2 separate regions of the Homo sapiens genome follow, and region 2 is linked to region 1. The links are contacts of gene promoters, found by promoter capture Hi-C in blood cells and fetal thymus (Javierre and others, 2016). All regions are on one chromosome and are shown on one strand. Each heading gives the region's core, a stretch centred on a gene start or on the middle of the fragment in contact. The rest is flanking DNA. Distances are from core to core; before and after follow the strand shown.

The links. Contacts are between HindIII fragments. The CHiCAGO score rates a contact against its expected background, and 5 or more counts as called.
Region 2: a contact is called between a fragment that was not itself captured here and the fragment with the promoter of TBC1D7 in region 1, in 1 of 17 cell types (non-activated CD4 T cells). The highest score is 5.7, in non-activated CD4 T cells.

Annotation. Positions count from the first base shown.
Region 1 is chr6:13,326,970-13,330,670 of GRCh38, reverse strand. It overlaps TBC1D7 (TBC1 domain family member 7), which reads left to right and starts at 2,134. Exons shown (of 8, transcript NM_016495.6): 1 at 2,134-2,375. TBC1D7-LOC100130357 (TBC1D7-LOC100130357 readthrough) reads left to right here and starts at 2,134. Exons shown (of 9, transcript NM_001318809.2): 1 at 2,134-2,215. It overlaps LOC124901261 (a long non-coding RNA gene), which reads right to left and starts at 2,056. Exons shown (of 2, transcript XR_007059457.1): 1 at 1,773-2,056; 2 at 814-946. RefSeq lists an enhancer at 1,789-2,295 and a silencer at 1,929-2,318. The HindIII fragment of the contact is 4,199 bases long and covers 1,270-3,701 here.
Region 2 is chr6:14,075,743-14,079,174 of GRCh38, reverse strand. No RefSeq gene overlaps it. Among named protein-coding and RNA genes, the nearest start is that of CD83, 40 kb to the left of the region's middle. The HindIII fragment of the contact is 343 bases long and covers 1,516-1,858 here.

The sequences.
Region 1 (3,701 bases), core at 885-3,384:
TTGGGGCACAAAGTGCCTGCCCAGGAATTATATTGAAAGCCAGCTGCCAAGGTGACCTGCTATAACCTGAAGACCAGTTTCACCCAGTAGCTGCTGAAACGAATTGCTGTAACTCTAAGACTAGTTTTACTTACCACCTTCTCTCACAAATTAGAGCTTGCCTGTTCCTAAAAACTTTGCTTAGGGTCAATGAGCTATCTTTCAAGGTAATACATAACATTTCTCTAATGAAACCTCCAACCATCTCTTTGTTGTTCTGAAGACCACCCCAGTCTGTGTGTATGCCCTGAACTGCAATTCTGTTTTCCCAAATAAAATGATTTAGAGACTCATCTTTGCATTTTTAATTGATCTTGACACAGCCAATTCACATATATCCCTACTGTGCCACATGCCAGGCACCATGCCAAGCACTTTACATACTTTCTCATTTAACCCTTCCCACCTTCTATATAATCACCATTGGTGATGATTTTATTTTATTATTAATATTTTTTGAAATGGAATTTCTCTCGTTGCCCAGGCTGGAGTGCGGCGGCACCATCTCAGCTCACTGCAACCTCTGCCTTCCGGGTTCAAGCGATTCTCCTGCCTCAGCCTCCAGAGTAGCTGGGATTACAGGTGTGTGCCATCACACCCAGCTAATTTTGTATTTTTACTAGAGACAGGGTTTCACCATGTTGGCCAGGCTGGTCTCGAACTCCTGACCTCAGGTGATCCGCCTGCCTCGGCTTCCCAAAGTGTTGGGATCATAGGCATGAGCCACGGCGCCCAGCCAGCACCGATCACTTTTTAACACACTACATCATTGACTTATTTATTTTAGTTTTTATTGGATCTGTCCTCCCACCAGAATGTCAGTTTCACAAGGTTAGGGATCTTTGCTTCGGTAGCTGATGTATCCTGAGTCCATAGAACAGCGCCTGCACACAGTAAGTGCCCAGCCCTGGTGATGATTTTAAAGACAAGAAAAGGCAATTATAAAAGTTAGTGACCGGCCCAAGGTTTAGATGAAGTAAATGGAACTTGTGTAAGGTAACTTGAAGAACTCTGCTTACTCATGTGAACACTACCCAAGGAAGGTTTAGTACCCCAGTACTGAGGAACTAAAGATGGTGGTGGTAAGGGAGTGGGGAGGGGCATCAGTGTTTGAGTTCAACCACCACACGTTTCTTCATTTTTAAGTTCTGTCTAGCCATTATACACACATTTGTCTGCACTATAACTGGACTTCTGCACTGTTGATAGTCCTAAGTTTCCTTCAAAGCTTGGCATCCGTGTGGCTTATTTGGTAGAGATTTGAACTTTCAAAGGGACGATACCCATCATTGGGGATTTCTCTCAAACCCTGGCGGTTTAAAAACCTACTTGGGCACTGCTGCTCAGCCAGCCCGAGGACCAGGGAGGCAAGCACAGAAATAGAAAGCATTTGTAAGTGTTAGTAGCTACTTTAAAGAGTAACTCTGTTCTGTTAGACCTACTAATAACAAATTAGGAGCTTGCATTTAGCACATCTTTTTTTAAAAAAAAAACACGTTCATTTTTCTCCTATGTTATAGTGTTTTACCTGAGAGGCTGAATATACTAAGACAATGGCCAAATCTAATATAAAAATAGACCTCCAATCCACAACCTGCAGCAACCTGCCCAGAAAACCAGTCAGTTACCTACAATAACCAACCCAGGGAGCCTGCCTGCTCTAAATCAGACTTGCACTCCTCTGCCTGCCTTTTTTCTTCTCATTCGGATGGTCTTCATCTATTCCCACATACCTGGGGTGGGGAGGAAATTAGCAAAAGCAAAACCCGGGTCCTGCACGCAGGCAGCTTAAGTACGGCCCTAGGGCTCGGGTCTTCCCTAGGCAAGAACCTCGAGGGCCGGACACGGGAGTGCAACCCAGGCACGCGCCTTCGGATGGCCAGAGTAAATGGTCGCGAGATTTTGCGGGGTAGCAAGGGGCCGGGTGCCCACGGCGGGAGAAACTACACTACTCTGGAGGCGAGCCTAGCCCTTCATCCCGTCGGGTTTCACAAACGAAGCCAGAGCTTCCTGGAGTGAGGGTGGAGCTTCCTGCCCGCGCCCTCTGCGCATGCGCCCGCCCGGCGCCCGCCCGGCGACCTGGAGTTGATGTCACGTCCGGCGGCGGCGGCAGCGGCAGCGGCAGCGGCGCTGAGTTTTGTCTCCCGGGCCGTCTGGGCGCGCGCGGGTGTCCCAGGTACCCCGCCGCCTCCCTCCTTCCCGCAGGACTCGTCCCTCCTGGCCCTGGGCCCCAACGGTGCCCGCCTGCCCGGCGGTCGGTCAGCGCACAGGGCACGGCTTCCTCTGCTTCTCCCGGACCACTTAGTCTCAACCCGGGTGTGTTTGCACTACTAGAGGTGAAGCATCCATCATAGAGAGAATGGGACCTGGGGTCTTGGACCAGGGTGTTTTTACTTTTCCCATCAGGTGGACGCGCATGGGCAGGAGATATTATTTGCAGCATTTCCTCCTAGAGGACGCCTTTGTCATTGTAGTGCAATCTAAGAATGGGTGTCCTTAGACAACAGGGACCGACCAAATCGTCATGCAGCTGTTTGGATGCTTTAAAAAAATAAATCCCCACACTCATTACGCGTTTTATGCTGCTGACTTTTTTATTTTTAAGACATCTGCTCCCGAAAGCTCAGAGCCCTTTAGCATTTCATTTTCTAAACGAATCCTAATCTTTCCTGTGACTGAATCGGTTCAGAGGATATCTTTTCAATAAGGAAGGAAGCCCTCCCCTGCTCACTGGGGACGTCGCAGGGTTTTTAAACCTAAAGATTTACTCTTTTGTGCACAGACGCTGGAAGCATTTGGGTGAGGCAGTGCAGTGCTTTTTGGGAAATGCATCAGATCTTTTCTGTTCTTGAAACGCCAAATCTAACTTGGTCTTTTTTTGGATGAATTACCGCCAGTATTATGAAGGTTACTGTGAAGGAACTTGAGACCACTGAACTTTTTGAGTTCTTGCGGTAGATTTTAAATCGTTTTTCCGTCTTCAACTCTGACTTTGGGATCACTGTCAATTGGCTACATTCTTTACCCTCTTCTAGTTATAATTTAATGCGATTTATTTGTTGTGGGTTTTGAATTTCGATAGCTACACTTAATAGAATTGTGTTTAAAAGAAAGATAAGTGAGGAACTCGTGGCTTTTTACTTTTATATAACTTAATTTTTCATTTTACAAAATGCCCATTTAAAAAAAAGTAGCTAAGCAAAAGAAAGGAAATTAAAATCATCTAGAATCCTACTATCTAAAGATAACCATTGCTAACATTTTGGAATAGAGTGTTAAGTTTTAAAATACATGAAATTTGTAAAAAACAAAAAATGAAATCATAGTGTATACTGTTTGAGTATAATTTGCTTGACGTATCTTGCCTGGCTTCCATTTCACTTATTTTTTTTCTTTGCGCATTTATAATAGCTACAGAATGTTCTATTGTGCTAGGCACTCATAGGTATAGTGGGAAACCTAGTGCATAAACCTTGTGCCATCTATTTTATCAGCTCAGAGAACTTTTAACTTATATCTTGGTTTTTAGCCAAGATGCATAGGTGAGATAGTTGCAGAACTGAGTTAAAGGAAAAATTTAATATTGGGTCCTATGCAAGGGTACATCATATTGAAAAGGTGGAGAACATCATTGAAAATTATTCTAATTCTTGACTCTTTGT
Region 2 (3,432 bases), core at 438-2,937, 750 kb before region 1:
TTCAGCCTACACCCAGGAATGAACAAGGACAGCTTGGAGGTTAGAAGCAAGATGGAGTTGGTTAAGTTAGAGCTCTTTCACTGTCTCAGTCATAATTTTGCAAAGGCGGTTTCAGGGTTGCTGTAACAAAGTAGCACAAATCTGGCAGGGCGCGGCAGCTCACACCTGTAATCCCAGCACTTTGGGAGGCCAAGGTGGGCAGATCACCTGAGGCCAGGAGTTCGAGACCAACCTGACCCACATACGAAACCCTGTCTCTACTAAAATACAAAAAAATGAGCCGGGTGTGGTGGCGTGCACCTGTAATCCCAGCTACTCGGGAGGCTGAGGCACAAGAATCACTTGAACCCAGGAGGTGGAGGTTGCAGTGAGCCGAGATCACCCCACTGATCCAGCCTGGGTGACAGAGTGAGACCCTGTCTCAAGAACAAAAGAAAAAAAAAAAAGTACCATAAACCAGGTGGTTTAAATGGCAGCAATGGATTATCTCACAGTTCTGGAGGCCGGAAGTCTGTAACAAGGGGCTGGTGGAGTTGGCTCCTTCTCAGGGCTGGGAGGGACACTCCGTTCCATGCTGGCAATCTTTGGTGTTCCTTGGCTTACAGATGCATCACCCCTAGCTATACCATAATCTCCACATGGCATTCTCCTCATCTGTAACTGACTCCAAACTTTTCTTATAGGGACCCCAGTCATATTGGGTTAGGGCCCACCCTAGTGACCTCATTTCAACTTTATTACCTCTGCAAAGACCCTATCTCCAAATAATGTCACATTCTGAATTAAGGGAGGTTAGGACTTCAATATACAGACTTTGGGAAGACTCAATTAAACCCATAATAGTTTCCTTCTTTCTCTTTTTATCTACTTGCAATGTAGTTGTTGAAGAATCCAGGACATTGTCCAGTTTCTTCTGGATTTTGCTGATTTCTTCCATATGATCCCATTTGTAACATGCTTCTCTGTCCTCTTGTGTTTCCCGTAAACTGGGTGGTAGACCTAATCCCATGGCCAGATTCAGGTTTGGCCATTTCAGCAAGAATACACCAGAAGGACTTTAATGAGAATGTCATGTGGAGATTATGGTATAGCTAGGGGTGATGCATCTGTAAGCCAAGGAACACCAAAGCTAGCCAGCATGGGAAGGAGTGTCTCCTTTTTTGTGATGTTATGACTGGTCACAGGCTCAAGAACTGTCGCCCTCATCCAGCTGTTACTGGAAAAGGGTCCAGATCCAGACCCCAAGACAGGTTTCTTGAATCTTGCACAAGAAAGAATTCGGGGTGAGTCCATAGAGTAAGGTGAAAGCAAGTTTATTAAGAAAGTAAAGAAACAAAAGAATGGCTACTCCATAGGCAGAGCAGCAGCATGGGCTGCTTGACTGAGTAAACTTATGGCTTTTTTTCTTGATTATATGCTAAACAAGAGGTGGATTATTCATCAGTTTTCTGGGAAAGGGGTGGGGAGTTCCTGGAGCTGAGGGTTGCTCCCCCTTTTAGACCATATAGGGAAGCTTCCAGACCATGCCATGGCAATTTGCAAAGTGTCATGGCACTGGTGGGACTGTCTTTTAGCATGCTAATGCATTATAATTAGTGTATAATGAGCAGTGAGGACGACCAGAGGTCACTTTCATCGCCATTTTAGTTTTGGCAGGTTTGGACCAGCTTCTTTACCACATCCTGTTTTTATCAGCAGGGTCTTTATGACCCATATCTTGTAACCTCCTATCTCATCTTATGACTAAGAATGCCTAACCTGGGAATGCAGCCCAGCAGGTGTGAGCCTCATTTTACCCAGCCCTATTCAAGATGGAGTCTCTCCGGTTCCAATGCCTCTGACACAACCATATAAAGCTTTCCATCAGCTTTTCATATAATGGCATCAATAGCCATTGCTGATCAGTGCCTGATTCCATTATTTCATTAGAGGTTGAAAAATGCGATTTAAAATTCTTAGTTCTCTGGCATTTATTATCTGAAATTCTTGCATAAAGAACTTTCTTGTAACAACTGCTTGCTAACCCTGAAGTACAATTCACACAGGCAAGACAGGATAAATCATTCACTCATTTTCTTCATTGGCTTTTAAAATAATGACTTGGTTTCTGAGCATCTTCCAAAAGGGAACAATGAGGACGATTTTTGAGTATTATAATTAACTTGTGGATTTTAACATACATGATTCCTTGAAGTTATTCTATTTGCTGTAGTTATTATTCTTTTTGAAGCTCAAAATGTTCCATCTTTGCCCAGTGAGAGTCCCTTCAAGTTGGTTCCAGAATTCTCTCTTTTTTTGAGTTGAAGTCTCACTCTATCACCCACGCTGCAGTGCAGTGGTGCAATCTCGGCTCACTGCAACCTCTGCCTCCCAGGTTCAAGCAATCCTCCTGCCTCAGCCTCCCAAGTAGCTGGGATTACAGACACATACCACCACACCCAGCTAATTTTTGTATTTTTAGTAGAGACAGGGTTTCACCATGTTGGCCAGGCTGGTCTTGAACTCCTGACCTCAGGTGCTCCACCTGCCTCAGCCTCCCAATCCAGAATTCTTATGATGCAACTCCAAAGGCTTTGATAATCTCCTTGCTTTCTAGTAAATCAATGTGCTCTGGGTTCACCTTGTTCACTTCTTGTCCCAAACCTAGAATCAGCTATTTGTCCAAAGAATGTTGGTTTCTTTTATTGGAGATTGGCATTTAGAGTCAAATATCTGAGTGCTAAGAATGCTCATTGCCAGATTATTTAGTGAACAGTGGTTAGAAATACTTTTTTTAAATTTTATTTTATTTTAGAGATGGGATCTTGCTTGTTGGCCAGGTTGGTCTTGAACTGGCCTCAAGCAATCCTCCTGCCTCAGCCTCCCAAAGTACTAGGATTACAAGCATGAGCTTGTAGGAGAAATACTTTTATAAGAGAAGATATATCATGAGTTCATATCAATATTGTCAACTTAAATTTAGAGTTATAGGGTTTGTATGTAAATTGTTTAATTTTATGCTTGCAACCTTTTTAAACTGAAAATCTTGGTTCCTAATAACTTTAACATAATTATGATGCATATATATTTGCACATATATATAAACAGACATATGTTTCAAATGAACAATACCAATATTATTACCAAATAAAGATATAATTAATAAGTAGTATTATTGAACACAATTTAAAATTTATTTATAGTTGTTTGGTCCATTAAGGTATAATCCACTGGGGATGTATTTATATTACAGTACTTGAAAGCCATATGAAATAGTTCCTTTATATGTGGTTGACCCATTTGCTCAACAAAAGTGATTAGAAGTTAAGAAATTAACAAGGTTAATTTTTTTCCACTTTGCTTTCGATTTTGAAGGATTGTTTTCTATTTTTATTCACTTGTATTTTGTAATTATATAAAACATTTACATAAGTCCAAAGTCAAATCAACAAA